Linked DNA regions of Homo sapiens: all the other regions are linked to region 2. Evidence: promoter capture Hi-C in 16 types of primary human blood cells and fetal thymus (Javierre and others, 2016). All regions are on one chromosome and are shown on one strand. Each heading gives the region's core, a stretch centred on a gene start or on the middle of the fragment in contact. The rest is flanking DNA. Distances are from core to core; before and after follow the strand shown.

Region 1 (2,700 bases), core at 170-2,669, 1.2 Mb before region 2:
CTGGCCTCTAAAAAGAATTTTAAAAAAGAGGGACCTTTCCTCAAAGACAAGATGCTGCCTGCATGGAAGGATTCCGAGAGACGGGAAGGCCACTCCAGGTGTACATGTGGGGTGGCTCTCCTTGTCCAGGAGATATGGAGGGAAGACTGGCTGCCACCTGGGGGGTGGAGGGGGCAGGGAGATGTGGGTGGAAGACACTTGGAGCCTGGGGCTGTGGAATGAGCCAGAGGGTCTGGGCAGCATGACTGGGCGTCCAGCCACAGGAGAATGGAAGAAATTGGTGAGTGGAACGGTCTGGGCACTGCTAGATCATTCTGGTTTGGGACCACAGTTCAACCCAGGGAAATGGCTGGCCGACTGGCAGGAGTGGGACGCAAGGGAGAGCCTGGTGGCCTCCAAAGGAAGGAAGGGTGAACAAGAGGGATGCCCCATCAGTAAGGGTGGGCTGGGCTCAGGTCTGAGAGTGGAGGTGAAGAGCTCAGGGCAGTGAGGGCTGAGGGTGGCTTCCTGGGAGCCGCCAGGCCTCCCATGCCCCATCGGTGAGGCCCTGCAGATGTCCCCAGAGTGGGTGGGATTGTGGAGGAAACGATGTCTGTCTGCCTGGAGCTGGGTCTTGAGACAGGTCTCCAGGTCTCGAAGGAGCAGCCCAGGAGGGGGTTCAAATCCATCCTTTATGTTCCCAATGCCAACTGTGTGTGCCAGGCCCGGTGGCCCAGGGGGAGGGACAGAGTCTGGGCCTCACACTGGATCCCAGGCAGGGGGTGGGGTGGGGCAGGATGGAGCCCTGTACTTCTGTCAGGTGGCACAGACCCTAGAGGATGCTCCGGGACTGAACCTTGTGGGGTTGCTTTTTTTTTTTTTTTTTTTTTTTTGCTTTAATGAGCAGTCCGAGAAAACAGGTCTTGTAGAATAACGCGATCCCCTCTCTAGAGATGAGCTTTTCTTCCTGGCTGGCCTACTGGACACATTTCCAGAGGGCGGTCTTGGAGTTTGACTTCCTCTAAGCATCTGGGGCACCGGCAATGGCGAGTGTCTCTCTCCAGCAGGCGCACTGGGAGGGGGCCTCCCAGGGGCGCTAGGCTGCATCCCTGTCCCTCCCCCAGGGACGCCCCGGTGTCCGGAACCGGCTGCGCCGCCGACCCTGATCCTCTGGGCGCCGCACCCCGCCAGGGATCCCGCGGGGTGGAGGTCACCAACCCCGGATGGGTAGTGACCGCGCCCGGGCAGCCTACAGTCGTCCCCTTCCCCGCCGAGCGTCCCCGGTCCAATTCCGGCCCCCCCAGCCGCAGGGACCCCGCTCCCCGCGCCAGGCCCCCGCGCCGCCACACTCACCGGAGCTGCCCTCGCCCCGCCCGGCTCGGCTCCCGCTCGGACTGCGTGGCCGCGTGGCCTGTGGCCCAGTGGCCCGGCCGGGGCGCCGAGCGCGGCCCCCTCCCTCCTTCCGCCGGTCGCGCGGGGTCCCCCGGCCCCGCCTCCACCCCGCCCCCGCGGCCGCCGCAGCCGCTGCCAAGGCAACCAGGCGCCGCCAACACGTGACCCACCCGCGGGAGAGCCGCGGCCACGTCACCCGCCGGGCCGGGAGGGGCGGGGCTGGCGGCGCCTCCTCGGAGAGTGGGGGGGTGGGGGTCCCCGCCTCACCTGGAACCACCCCGGGATCGCGCGAGGGAGAGGAGCAGGGGAGGTGGGAAGACCCCGACCCGCGCGCATCCCTCCTGCCCCAGCTCCTGTCCCCGGCCCCAGCTCTGGGAGTCAAGGCGAGGCCCCCCACCGCCCCATCGGGGGTCCGGCTACCCACAGACCACGAGCTGGGCTTTCCCTGCCCCTGGGTCCGGGCGCAAAAGGGGAGCCCCAGGCTTGGCAGGGTGAGCCTCGGGGGGTGCCCAGCATTGGACGCTGGCTGCGTAGAGGGGCGGGGAGTGGGGACAGGGCGGGCGGGTGCAGGTGGGCAGTGGAGGGGAAAGGAAGGTGGGGAGGGGAGAATCCGTCTGGCCACGCCCGAGTTTTCACAGGATTTTTTTTTTTATTTTTTTGAGACAGGGTCTGGCTCTGTCGCCCAGGCTGGACTGCAGTGGTGCGATCACGGTTCAATGCAGCCTCGAATTCCTGAGCTCGAGTGATCCTCTGCCCTCAGTCACCCAAAGTGCTGAGGCTACATGTAGGCAGGAGCCACCACACCGTGGTAGTTTTTAAAAAATTTGTTTTTGTTTGTTTTTTGAGAGGGAGTTTTGCCCTGTCACCCAGGCTGGAGTGCAGTGGTGCCATCTTGGCTCACTGCAACCCCCGACCCCGGGGTTGAAACGATTCTCCTGTCTCAGCCTCCGAGCTACAGGTGCACGCCACTAGCCTGGCTACTTTTTTGTATGTTTAGTAGAGATGGGGTTTCACCATGTTGGCCGGACTGGTCTTGAACTCCTGACCTCAGGTGATCCTGCCTGCCTCGGCCTCCCAAAGTGCTGGGATGATACATGTGAGCCACTGTGCCCAGCCAAAAAAAAAAAAAAAAATTCTTTTTTTAGAGATAGAGTCTTCCTGTATTGCCCAGACTGGTCTTAAACTCCTGGCCTCAAGCAATCCTCTCTTAGCCTCTCAAAGCACTGGGATTACAGGCATGTGCCACAATGTCCAGCTAATTTTTAAATTTTTTAAAAAAATTGAGATGGGTCTTGCTATGTTGCCTCTGCTGGTCTCGAACTCCTGGGC
Region 2 (2,700 bases), core at 142-2,641:
ACTCCAGAAGCTGAGGCCAGAGAATGGTGTGAACCCGGGAGGCAGAGCTTGCAGTGAACCGAGATTGCGCCACTGCACTCCAGCCTGGGGGACAGAGCAAGACTCCGTCTCAAAAAGAAAAAAAAAGAAAGAAAGAAAAACTAAAAGGGCCAAGCGCAGTGGCTCATACTTGTAATCCTAGCATTTTGGAAGGCCGAGGCAGGAGGATCACATGAGCTCAGGAGTTCAAGACCAGCCTGGGCAACATAGTGAGACACCCATCTCAACAAAAAATATAAAAACTAGCCCAGCATGGTGGCCTGCACCCACCTGTAGTTCCACCTACTCAGGTGGCTGAGGTGGAAGAATCACTTGAGCATGGGAGGTTGAGGCTGCAGTGAGTTATATAGAACCACTGCATTCCAGCCTGGGTGACAGAGCAAGACTCTGTCTAAAAAAAAAAAGTCTTTGCTGGCTCTCCAGTGTTTCCCTACAGAGTTCAAACTCCTGGGCAGTGTGTATAATGCCTTTCAAAATGTAACCTTTCCCCAGCCTTCGATCCTTTCTTATTACTCTGTAAGATCCAAACTGTGAACTTGGCTTCCTAAGCGACTTGCTTTTTCTTGCTTCACTGCCTTTGCACGTGAGGTTCCCACTGAGAGAAACCCTAACTAGACTTTCAAGACTCAATTCAAGCTTTTTCATTTTTCCTTCAAGCTTTCACAGTCCCCTGCCTCCCAGAACCTGGGCTAGATGCCACGTCTCCCTGTTCCCAGGCGCTGTGCTTCCCTCTGCCATAGCACAAATCACAAATCACAGTAAAATACAGTGTTAGGTCTGCGTTTCTGCCCCCCTTCCAGAAAAAGCCAATGCTTGGATAAGAGGGGTCTTTCTCCTCTTCATCCCCAGCGCCCGGCTTGGAGCAGGCACCAATAAAACGTGAATGAAGGGTCAACGCCAGGACCCGAGGGCTGAGGAAGGGATTTACGAGGAATAGCTGGGGCCGGGCGCGGCAGCTCACGCCTGTAATCCCAGCACTTTGGAAGGCCCACGCAGGAGGATCGCTTTGAGGCCAAGAGTTGGAGACCAACCTGGGCAACATAGCGAGAGCCCGTCACCACATAACAAATTAAAAATTAACCAGGCGTGGGGCCTCATGCTTGCAGTTCCAGCCACTCCGGAGGCTGAGGTGGGAGGATGGTTTGATCCCAGGAAATCGAGGCTGCAGTGAGCTATGACTATGCCACTGCACTCCAGCCTAGGCGAAAGAGCGAGACCAAAAAAGAGGAATGACTAGGTAAGAAAATTCTAGGACTGACTTGGGAAGGGGAAGGGGGCGAACCGCGGGGGCTCACATACCCGAAGTTTTCTTCTCCACCATTGGCACAACACAACTGTCGGAAGAAACTGCTGCGCACGCGTACTAACCCCAAGGCTTTAGTAGGGGCGCCATCACTTCCGGTAGCTTGTACTTCTGCGCGTGCGCCACAGCTTTGACTCATTACGTGGCGTTTCCTTGGAGACAAGAAAGCTTTTCGCCATGTTTTATAGGGGCAAAACCACTTCCGGCCTCAGTGTGGAGGTGTAAATCTTGTGGGAGCCACGAAATGGGTCATTTTAAAGATGTGGTCACGGTGTTCTTACAAGAAATCTTATTTTCCTTTGGTCCTTGTGAAGATGCTGTGATCACAAAGGCAGCCCCTGGAGCTTCTCCGGGCAGAAGAGGAGGTGGGCTGGACTGTCAAAGAAAGTGGCTGGCTTCCGTGGGCAATCCGAGGTTCCTAGTGGCCCTCTGCAGAAAGCTGAACTCCCAGTTCCCCCAGGCCTCCGTCCCGCGGCGGACTCCTAGGCTTCCTCCCTCCCTGTCGCCGCCAGCCTCTCGCTCTCCCCGTCTTCCGCCCGCACTCTCTGGGCAGGGCTGCGGCCAGGACCCGCCCCCGCGTCCCGCCCGACCCTCCGCCAGGGGTCACTTCCCCTGTCCAGGTTTCAGCTTCCACATGTGTCAAGCGGCTGGCTCAGCCCAGAGTCCCTGTCTCCCGCCCGCCGGCCCGAGCCGCCGCCCCTCCCCCGCCTCCCGTGCGCCCGGGACAATCCTCGCCTTGTCTGTGGCGCCGGCATCTGGAGCTTTCTGTAGCCTCCGGATACGCCTTTTTTTCAGGGCGTAGCCCCAGCCAAGCTGCTCCCCGCGGCGGCCGCACAGCAGCCCGAGCGCCCCCTTTCCAGAGCTCCCCTCCGGAGCTGGGATCCAGGCGCGTAGCGGAGATCCCAGGATCCTGGGTGCTGTCTGGGCCCGCTCCCCACCATGACCTCCTCGGGGCCTGGACCCCGGTTCCTGCTGCTGCTGCCGCTGCTGCTGCCCCCTGCGGCCTCAGCCTCCGACCGGCCCCGGGGCCGAGACCCGGTCAACCCAGGTGAGATCCCGGGGAGGCCCGGCACGGCCGAGGGGGCAGAGGCTGGCGTGCCTGCCAGCCTGGCCCGGAGAGGGTCGGAGGCTCGAGGAGGTGTCTGGCCCGTCCCCCGCCCAGCGTGCTCTTGAGGCTGAGTCGCGCCAAGCCCCTCGCCCATCACTACCCTGAACTGGGGTTTCCAGCCTCCCTATGCAAAGGGACTCGGAATTCCTGGGCACCACTCCCACCCTGCCCTCCTTGGGGTCAGAGTGTTCCTGGGTGAGAAGAGTTTAAGAATGGGAAGGAAGAAAGGGAGGGAAGTCGAGTGAGAGGG
Region 3 (2,700 bases), core at 1-2,500, 1.2 Mb before region 2:
GAGCCTGAGCCCAACAGAGTCCTGGCCCCAGGTATGAAGCTGGTGGGAGGCTCCCACTTACCGTCAGGAAGGGGTTGCCCTCCAGGCTGAGTTCCTCGAGCTTGGGGAACTGGCACAAGGCAGTAACATCCCCCAGCTGGTTGTTGGCGCAGCGGAGGACACGCAGGTGGGACAGGCCCAGGTTGTCCGGCAGCGTCTCCAGGTGGTTGTTAGACAGGTCAAGCTCCTGCAGCTGCGTCAGGCGGCACAGGAGTTTGGGGTCCAGGTGCTCGGAAAGCAGCTCCAATCCTGACAGGCTGGAGTTGGGGGCAGAAGGCTTAGGGGGCGGGCAGGCTTTGCACCCTACACCAATCTGCCCCGGGTACCTCAGAAGGCTTTTTCACCTGACATTTCTCGTACAAGTGTAGCCGCCCCGCCCATCCCCCCGTTACTTTATTTTTAGAGACGGGGTGTCACTCAGTCGCCTAGGCGCGATCATAGCTCACAGCTGCCTCCAACTCCTGGGCTGAGGGATCCTCCCGCCTCAGCCTCTCGAGTAGCTGGGACTAGAAGCGCGCGCCACTACTCCCGACTCCACACCACTTAACAAAAAAAAAAAAAAAAAAAAAAAAAAAAAAAAAAAAGCTGCAACTACTTTAGGACTCGGGGGCATCCTAGCCCCCTCTAGGATGCTCTTCCTGATCCTTCGGGGGCTCGTCTGTGCTTCCCAGGCCCTCTAACGATAGCGGCAGGCTGTGCCCCTAACTGTCCGGGCTCCCTTCAGGGGATGAGGCCCCTCGGGGCTCCCGGCGAGCGGGTGGGGCCACGATCTCCCAACAAGAAGACATTTGGACCACTCTGCCGAACCCAGAGGGCGATAACGGGGACAAGCGGGCCGTTGGGGAGGGTCCCCGCTCTTCTCCCCGACCGCCCGGCCCCGAGGACACAGCCTCACCCGCTGCCCGGCTCTTACTCCAGACTCCGGATCTTCCCCAGCCGGTCGCTCTTGGGGCGCCCGCGCTGCATTAGCAGCCGCGCCGAGAGGGGGCCCATGGCGAGGAGGCGCAGCCCGCGCTGACCCAGTCGGCCACCCCGGCGTGTGGCGTCGCCCTGCGTCTCCTGGAGCCCGGCACTGGCGTCCGCGGTAACTGAGCCCAGGAGGCGGCGCCGCGCGAGCCCGTGGGCGTTAACGACCGGAAGGAAGCGGAACCCAGGCCTCGTGCCCCCGCCCGGCGCGGACTACAACTCCCAGCGGCCCCCACGGCCGCGCCTGCGCACTGGCCACGCGGACGGCGCGATGGCGGCGGCTGCCGCCGAGACCCCCGAAGTCCTTCGGGAATGCGGTTGCAAGGGCATCCGGACCTGTCTGATCTGCGAGCGGCAGCGCGGCAGTGACCCGCCCTGGGAGCTGCCCCCAGCGGTAAGGGGTGGGAGAGGGGCCGCGCCCACAAACGTCGCTCTGCATCTGGGGAAACTGAGGTCCAGCTTGGCCATGATAGGGGCCGGGATCGAAGCCTGTGAGGGACCCTTACGGTAGGGGTGATGCAGGGTGAGGAGATGAGGGCTTTAAGGAGCGGGCTTGGGAGTGGGGAAGGAGCTGGAACGTGGGTGGGTTCGATTACAGGTCACCTCGGGGACTCTGGGGGGATCTGCCTGTAAACCTCGACGTAGCCTCTCGGGTCTGGCGCTGGGAGCTTCACGGGCCTGCAGGGAGATGACACGGAAAGGGTCGATCGAGGGTGCTGAATACCAGTCCAACGGTGCCTGAAGGCCGTGGACTGCAATGGGCAAGGAGACAGTGAATTCCAGTTAACTAACGAAAAGGAACTCAAGGATCGCTGCAACCCAGGAGCTGGAGGCTGCAGTGAGCTATGATCGAGCCACCTCACTTCAGCCTGGGCGACAGAGCGAGACTCTGTCTCACAAAAAGAAAATAAATAAAAAAAGAAAAAGAACTCAGCGCCTTTGGGCTGGCATGGAAGGACTGTGGTTGGTTGCAAGGGCATTCCAACCCAGAAAACTGCGTGGGGTAGGAAGGTGGATTGGTGATGCCTCAGGTGAGAGAGATGAGGCTGGAGAGGTTGTGGGGGGGGGGAGGTCTGATCACAGATGCTCCCCGGTGCATCAGCTGAGCAGGCTGGACTTGTCCCAAAGGCCCTGGAGAGCTCTTGAAGGGTTTTAAAGGAGTGATGAAGTCAAATGTGAATTTTAGAAAGATCCTGGGAAGGGAACGGGCAGATATGAAGGTGTGGAGGCTGGTAAGCCAGTGAAGACTGCCCCAACGTCCATGGTAAAAGTGCCCAAGGTCCTATGGAAACAGCATGGCATGCCTCATGAATTAAACATAGAATTACCCATGATCCGCAATCCTGCTTCTGGGTATATATCCAAAGGAACTAAAAGCAGGGTCTGGAAGAGATATTTGCACACCCATGTTCATATTCACGACATTATTCATGACAGCCCAAAGATGGAAGCAAACCAAGCATCTATCAAGATACCTGGGCCGGGTTCAGTGGCTCACGCCTGTAATCCCAGCACTTTGGGAGGCTGAGGTGGGCAGATCACCTGAGGTCAGGAGTTTGAGACCTGCCTGGCTAACATGGCGAAACCCTGCCTCTACTAAAATTACAAAAACTTGCCGGGCTTGGTGAGGCACATCTGTAATCCCAGCTACTCGGGAGGCTGAGGCAGGAGAATCGCTTGAACCCAGGAGGCAGA
Region 4 (2,883 bases), core at 147-2,646, 1.1 Mb before region 2:
TTCCTTGCAACCCAGGCTGGGTAGGCAGGGCAAGAAGTGCCAGCCTCTTGTCAGAGAGGAGTGGTTGGGAGGCCTGGCTCGTTGACTGCGGGACTTTGGGCCAGTCACTTCCCCTCCCTAAGTGTGTGGGGATAATAATAGCACTAAACCCACAGGATTGTTGTAAAGATGACACGAACGGCGATCCTGATGCCCTTAGCTTGGCACAAGTAAGTTTGAAACCAAAAGCTCAGCCCTGGGAGGCCCAGGATCACTTGGGTGGAGATCCCACTTCCAAGACCCCCAAGGGAAGCCCACCCCTGGGTATTTGTATAGAAGTCCTCCCTAGGAGATTCACGCTAAGTAGGGAAGAGGGATTTAGAAACTTCAGACAGATTTTTCACAACAAGGGTAAAAAGAAAAGCGTGTGCATTAACCCTTGATTACCTAGAAGCATTCAACCAAGCAGCATCAGAAGCCGGCCTGCCACGGGGTGGGGCTGTTCTTGTATGTTGGTAGGACAGACCTCTAAGGAAGTAGCTGGTGGGAAACTGTCTCTGAGACCCCCAAAAATGCCCTGATCCACACTAGCCTAAAAGAAGTGCCACCACCGCCACCACCAGACCTCTCCCAAAGCTCCTGGAGCTGAAAAGTTCTAGGTCACTCTCCCAACCTCTTCCTGCGTGGAGTGGGGAGGCCAGGAGGGAAGAGGTTGGGAGAGTTCAAGGTGGGACACAGTAGTGGGGGCTTCAGCTCAAGAGGCAGTCAAAACCTCTTGGGGAAACCACACCCCCTGCCCCCAGTCCTCCCAGAGGAGCTCCAGGGACCTGACTCTGGGACGCAATTCCTGCCGGGAGTTGCCGGTCCCTTAGCCAGGAGGCAGGCAGCACCATCCCATTTTACAGGGTAGGTGATGTTGGCTCGGGGGCATTGGTAGGGCTCCACCCAGGTCTGACAGCCTAGCCTGAGGCTCTCCCTTGCACTAGCTCGAAGTGCACGTAGATCCTGGCTTATTCGTGTTCAGAGTCTCGCCTGGGGCTGCCCGGTCTGCCTTGCGTGGCTCCTGAGAGGCTCCAGTCACTGCAGACTTCCCTCCCTGAAGGCCCCCACTTCGGGGCTGCAGGGGGCCAGGATGCGTCCCTGCCTCTGCCCGGCTTCAGCCCGCTGGGCTGGCGCGGTTCCGGCCCGCGCAGCCCGCAGGTTCATCAATGGCCGAGGCCCAAGGGCCTGAATGGAGGGCACGAACCCGCCCCTTCTTAAAGGCGCCGGCCTCTTGGGCACCCTCCACGATCCTCCCGGCAATCGGGGGCTCCGGGGAGCTCCCCGGCTGGGCAGGTCGAGAAAGGGGGGCCTGGGCCAAAGGGAGGGCGTGCCTGTGGCCTGGAGGAGGTCCTCCCCGATCCCATCCCGTGGCCCTCACCCTCATTCTAGGTTGACGCCCCCTCCCAGCGCTCCCAGCGTAGGGAAGAGACCTGGGCACCCCTTCCCCCAACCAGAGACCCCTCCTCTAAGGACCCGGCTGCTCTCGCCCCACTACCCGGCCGGGGCCCTAGCAGGGGGCGGGGGCGCAGCTGCTCCAGAGGCGGCTCGGCCCCTCCAGCGGCTCCCCGCCCCGCCCGGGATGGGGATCGGGGAGCAGATCCCAGCCGGGGGCGCCTCCCCTCCCTCGCGCGCCCTCCTCCCTCCCACCCGCGCACACAAAGACGACACGCGCGGACCAAGGCGCGTGCGGCCGCTCTCCTTCGGGCAGCGGTGCGCACACAGCGCACGTCCCCGGGGACAGACAGGGGTCCCGGGGGAAGGACCAGGGAGCGAGGAACTGGGTATAAGGAGGCCATACCTACAGGCGCGCAGCTGCGGCCGAGCGGGCTGGGGCGCCGGCTGAGCGCTGCCCGGACCGCGGCCGGGCTCCCCGGGCCCGGTGGCTCATGGCCCGCGGCGGACTGGGCTCCCTCCCTCGTTCACCGCCTCGAAGGCTCCTGCGCTCCTCGCGGTCCCGGCGCGTCCCCCGCGCGGCTCTCTGGCAGCCGAGCTCCGCGCGCTCCAAGCCCAGCCCCAGCGCGGCGCGCCCCTCCGCCCGCGAGGCGCGCGCCTCCCGGCCCCGCCCCGCCCCCGCCCCCGCCGCGAGCCCCGGCCCCGCCCCCCCTCGCGCGTCCTGGCCCCGCCCCCTCCCGCCCCCACTTGCGCCGCTCAGGCCCCGCCCCCGGCCATCCGCGGAGCCCGAGCGGCGCCGGTGGCCGGTGCTTGCTGGCTCCCCGCAGCTGCGGTGCCGAGACTGCCCGGTCCTGGGGCCCGGAGAGAGGGGTTAGGAGCCGGCTCCGAGTCGCCCCATCTGGGCGGGGGTCCCCATGTCGCCGAGCCGGCCCCAGGCCAGGCGCGGGACTCCCACTCCTCCTCGTGGAGGCCACCCCTCGAGCCCGCGGTGGTGGTGGCCCCGGGAGCGCGGAGCGTGGGGCCGGGGGAATGTCCTGCGTGGCGGGTGTATGGGACGCGGACGCCCTCGAAGCGCCCCTCGCTGACGGGTGCTTCGCGGGAGCCGCCGCTGTGGCCAGACTCTCCGCAGCAGGGACAATGGGAGCCTGGAGGAGGCCTGGATGTCGCAACGGAGGAAGTCGACGCCTGGTTCTCATAAATCTCGAGGGCGCCACCACGCCCCCTCCCTGCAGCCCTCCGGTGCGGGAAATCGCCCCCGGGCCACAGGGCGGGACGGCCCCCCTGAGCGCAGTGCCCCCACCACCCAGCCTTCGCTGTGATGGGGGCCTGATGCCACCCGGAGAGGTGTCAGAGATCATAGAGGGGCGATGAGGGGCCACAACCCTGGCACCTTCCTCACCCCTGCCTGGCTCCAGAACTCGCCTGCTTTAGGGCAGAGACCAGTGGGGCTGAGGAAACAGTCCCGCTGGG
Region 5 (2,798 bases), core at 1-2,500, 1.1 Mb after region 2:
GTTCGGAGGCAAGTTTTAAATCAGGGTTCATTTTTTAATATTGATGAATCCTTCAATAATTGTATGTTTACTGCTGCCCTTCGCGAGCCAGCCTGAGAAGCGCGGGCTCGACATCCCCGCGCGCCCCCGCCGCCCGCCCCCAAGGCCGGCGACGCTGGAGCACATGTCCTGAGGCCCAGGACCGTGGTCGGCCGCTTTCGCACATTCGTGGCCAGCAGAGGGCGCAGCCGGCCAGCCCCCGCAGCGAAAGATCCCCGAGTGCCGCGTCAGCGATCGCGCTCCTTGCCCTCGCCGCCTGCCAGCCGCCCTGAGTCAGCAAACCACAGAGAGGCGAGGACCTCCCATTTTCCTAGACAGAACAAGTGGGCGTTGGGGGTACGGGTGAGTGGCAAGAACAACCGACCCGGAAGCGAAACGAGGGGGAACTTCCGTTCTTTGTTCTGTCCCCGGTGTGTGGGTCTGTGACAGGGTCCAACAGGGCCTGGTCCGTGTCCGGTCCCCCAAATCTGTCGTCCCTGCCCCCAGGGTGAGTCCACGCGTCCCCGGGTCTCGCGGTGAGACGGAGGCTGTGGTCGCCGGGGAAGGGGGTGGTGTCTGTGCCACTGCGGCCCGCAGGGTCCCCCGGCCGGCCCGGAGCAGGGTTCGGGGAGGCGCCCCTCCGTCCCCTGCAGCCCGTCCTCTACTCCGCTTCCCCAGGGATCCCCCTAGCCTAGCGGGATCCTGCGTAGGGGTTAGTAATGGGGCTCCGGTTCTGGTTTTGTGACTTTAACGGCGACCCAGCTGGAGCGTTTAAAAGTTTCAGCAGAGCGGTAGGGGCGCCTCTCTCTTGAAAGCAGCTAATGACAGCGACCCTAACTTGGTATTTCTCCCAGACGTTTTTATTTGATGTTAACACAGTTATTCGCGCCCGTGGCAGGAGAGGAAGTTTATTTTTACGCAGCTGGGTCCAAGGATCAGAGAAATTCTGCTAAGCGTACGCAGTTAGCACGAGGGCTGGGAGTGGGTGCAGACGCCGATTCCAGGGGTAATCCTGCTGGAGCCCAGTGCATCGCGTGATACACCTGGCTCAGGCTCCGTTTTCAGTTGTATTAGATTCCTGGTTTGATCCTCTCTCCGGAAGTGGGATTGAATCCACATCGGTGTTTACACTCTGAAGGGCTTTTGTAAACTCCAGGAGAAGATAGCAGAGTGATGAACCTGAAACCGATGGGCTAATTAGAGGAACGAGCGTATTATTTTCTCCAGAAAAGACATCTGTGGAGAGTGGGCATCATTTGATTATACGTGTTTGATGGACAGTCGGGTGGAAGGAGAAGATTCTGTTATTGAAGCTCTTTTTTTAAAAAAATTAATTTTTATTTATTTTTGAGACTGTCTCTGGAGTGCAGTGGCGCGATCTCGGCTCACTGCAACCTCCGCCTCCCGGTTCAAGCGCTTCTCCTGCTTCAGCCTCCCGAGTGGTTGGGACTACAGGCGCCCGCCACCACCTCCGGCGAATTTTTTGTATTTTTAGTAGAGACGGGGTTCCGCCCTTTTGGCCAGGCTGGTCTGCAACTCCTGGCCTCAAGTGATCCACCTGCCTTGGCCTCCCAAAGTGTTGGGATTACAGGCGTTAGCCACCGCGCCCGGCCTTTTTTTTTTTTTTCCTTTTAAAATGTTTGTGTGTGTATTAAGGTCTTGCTCTGTTGCCCCCGGCTGGAGTGCCGTGGTGCCATCATGGCTCACCATAGCCTGGAACTCCTGGGCTCAAGTAATCCTCCCACCTCAGCCTCCTAAAGTGCTGGGGTTACAGGCGTGAGCCACTGCAGGTCGCCAGTCATTGAATTTCTGTGATGCACTAGGTCTCTGTGCGGTGAAGGTCCAAGGAGATAGATTTTCAGCGAATCACCTGAAGACTTCTAATGGCTCAGCTGTGCAATGTGGATCCCCTGCTGAAGTAGTTCGGAGCACAGTGTCTAGCAAGTTAGCTGACAGAACGTTAGAACTTTCTTACCCTGGGTGGAGGTGGACCTGAGAACCTACCATTCCCTTTCATCTCTCCACGGGTGCAACGCAAATACTAGTTGTGGTGGTGGTCTTAATTGGTATTTATTAGCATATAATAAGTATTCTCTTTTTTTTCCTTTTCTTTAAATGTCTTGATTAGAAATGAAGTTTAGGCTGGACTCGGTGGCTCATGCCTGTAATCCCAGCACTTTGGGAGGCTGAGGTGGGAGAATCACTTGAGGCCAGGAGATTGAGACCAGCCTGAGCAACACAGTGAGGCTGCATTTCTACAAAAAGAATTTTAAAAAACTCAGCCAGATGTGGCAGTGCACACCTTTAGTCCCAGCTCCTTGGGAGGCTGAGCTGGGAGGATCACTTGAACTTAGGAGTTTGAGTCTGGAGTGAGCTCAAACTCACTGCACTCCAGCCTGAGCAGCAGAGTCAGACCCTGTCTCATGGAAAAAAAAAGACGTTTGCATGAATATTTTAAATTCCTTTTTTTCCCCTTAATCACACAGCATTGGCATCAACAAAAGTCAGAATTCCCGGGAACTTGAACAGAGGCTGCTAAATTCCCAGTAATTGCTCCTTTGGCCTTCTAGGGACTGACTTCAAAGAAGGAAGGAAAGAATCAGGCAGGTAAAGCTTTCCGTGTCTTGTTCTTACTGCCAGGCCATCTATCTCGGTCCCCACGGGCAGCACCAGGGAGTGAGGCTGGCAACAGAGCAGGGGAAGGGCCCTGTCTGGACCTGAAGCCATGGGGGCACAATGGAGAGTTTTCTTTCTGTGAGAAACGCTGTTTACTGATCTGG

The links. Contacts are between HindIII fragments. The CHiCAGO score rates a contact against its expected background, and 5 or more counts as called.
Region 1: a contact is called between the fragment with the promoter of ORAI2 here and the fragment with the promoter of ZNHIT1 in region 2, in 3 of 17 cell types (naive CD8 T cells, total CD4 T cells and non-activated CD4 T cells). The highest score is 7.3, in naive CD8 T cells.
Region 3: the fragment with the promoter of ALKBH4 here is called in contact with the fragment with the promoter of ZNHIT1 in region 2 in 3 of 17 cell types (naive CD8 T cells, megakaryocytes and endothelial precursors); the score reaches 7.7 in naive CD8 T cells.
Region 4: a fragment that was not itself captured here is called in contact with the fragment with the promoter of ZNHIT1 in region 2 in 6 of 17 cell types (naive CD4 T cells, non-activated CD4 T cells, fetal thymus and 3 more); the score reaches 7.9 in naive CD4 T cells.
Region 5: a fragment that was not itself captured here is called in contact with the fragment with the promoter of ZNHIT1 in region 2 in 1 of 17 cell types (fetal thymus); the score reaches 5.6 in fetal thymus.

Annotation. Positions count from the first base shown.
Region 1 is chr7:102,432,294-102,434,993 of GRCh38, reverse strand. ORAI2 (ORAI calcium release-activated calcium modulator 2) reads right to left here and starts at 1,419. Exons shown (of 4, transcript NM_001126340.3): 1 at 1,333-1,419. RefSeq lists silencers at 1,010-1,789, 1,820-1,959. The HindIII fragment of the contact is 6,966 bases long and covers 1-2,700 here.
Region 2 is chr7:101,216,856-101,219,555 of GRCh38, reverse strand. It overlaps ZNHIT1 (zinc finger HIT-type containing 1), which reads right to left and starts at 1,391. Exons shown (of 5, transcript NM_006349.3): 1 at 1,339-1,391. The coding sequence starts at 1,360. PLOD3 (procollagen-lysine,2-oxoglutarate 5-dioxygenase 3) reads left to right here and starts at 1,975. Exons shown (of 19, transcript NM_001084.5): 1 at 1,975-2,390. The coding sequence starts at 2,282. RefSeq lists enhancers at 1,044-1,585, 1,679-1,798, 2,347-2,700 and silencers at 1,899-2,178, 2,319-2,368, 2,429-2,548. The HindIII fragment of the contact is 814 bases long and covers 699-1,512 here.
Region 3 is chr7:102,463,413-102,466,112 of GRCh38, reverse strand. It overlaps ALKBH4 (alkB homolog 4, lysine demethylase), which reads left to right and starts at 1,250. Exons shown (of 3, transcript NM_017621.4): 1 at 1,250-1,399. The coding sequence starts at 1,277. LRWD1 (leucine rich repeats and WD repeat domain containing 1) reads right to left here and starts at 1,129. Exons shown (of 15, transcript NM_152892.3): 1 at 953-1,129; 2 at 62-296. The coding sequence starts at 1,032. It overlaps MIR5090 (microRNA 5090), which reads right to left and starts at 371; the gene lies at 287-371. RefSeq lists enhancers at 1-201, 479-578, 202-728, 858-1,507 and a silencer at 919-1,348. The HindIII fragment of the contact is 18,940 bases long and covers 1-2,700 here.
Region 4 is chr7:102,286,031-102,288,913 of GRCh38, reverse strand. SH2B2 (SH2B adaptor protein 2) reads right to left here and starts at 2,046. Exons shown (of 9, transcript NM_001359228.2): 1 at 1,820-2,046. RefSeq lists an enhancer at 299-388 and silencers at 1,539-2,078, 2,149-2,728. The HindIII fragment of the contact is 4,125 bases long and covers 1-2,883 here.
Region 5 is chr7:100,079,363-100,082,160 of GRCh38, reverse strand. It overlaps ZNF3 (zinc finger protein 3), which reads left to right and starts at 438. Exons shown (of 6, transcript NM_032924.5): 1 at 438-526; 2 at 2,505-2,625. RefSeq lists a silencer at 30-109 and enhancers at 1-193, 350-499. The HindIII fragment of the contact is 2,766 bases long and covers 1-2,633 here.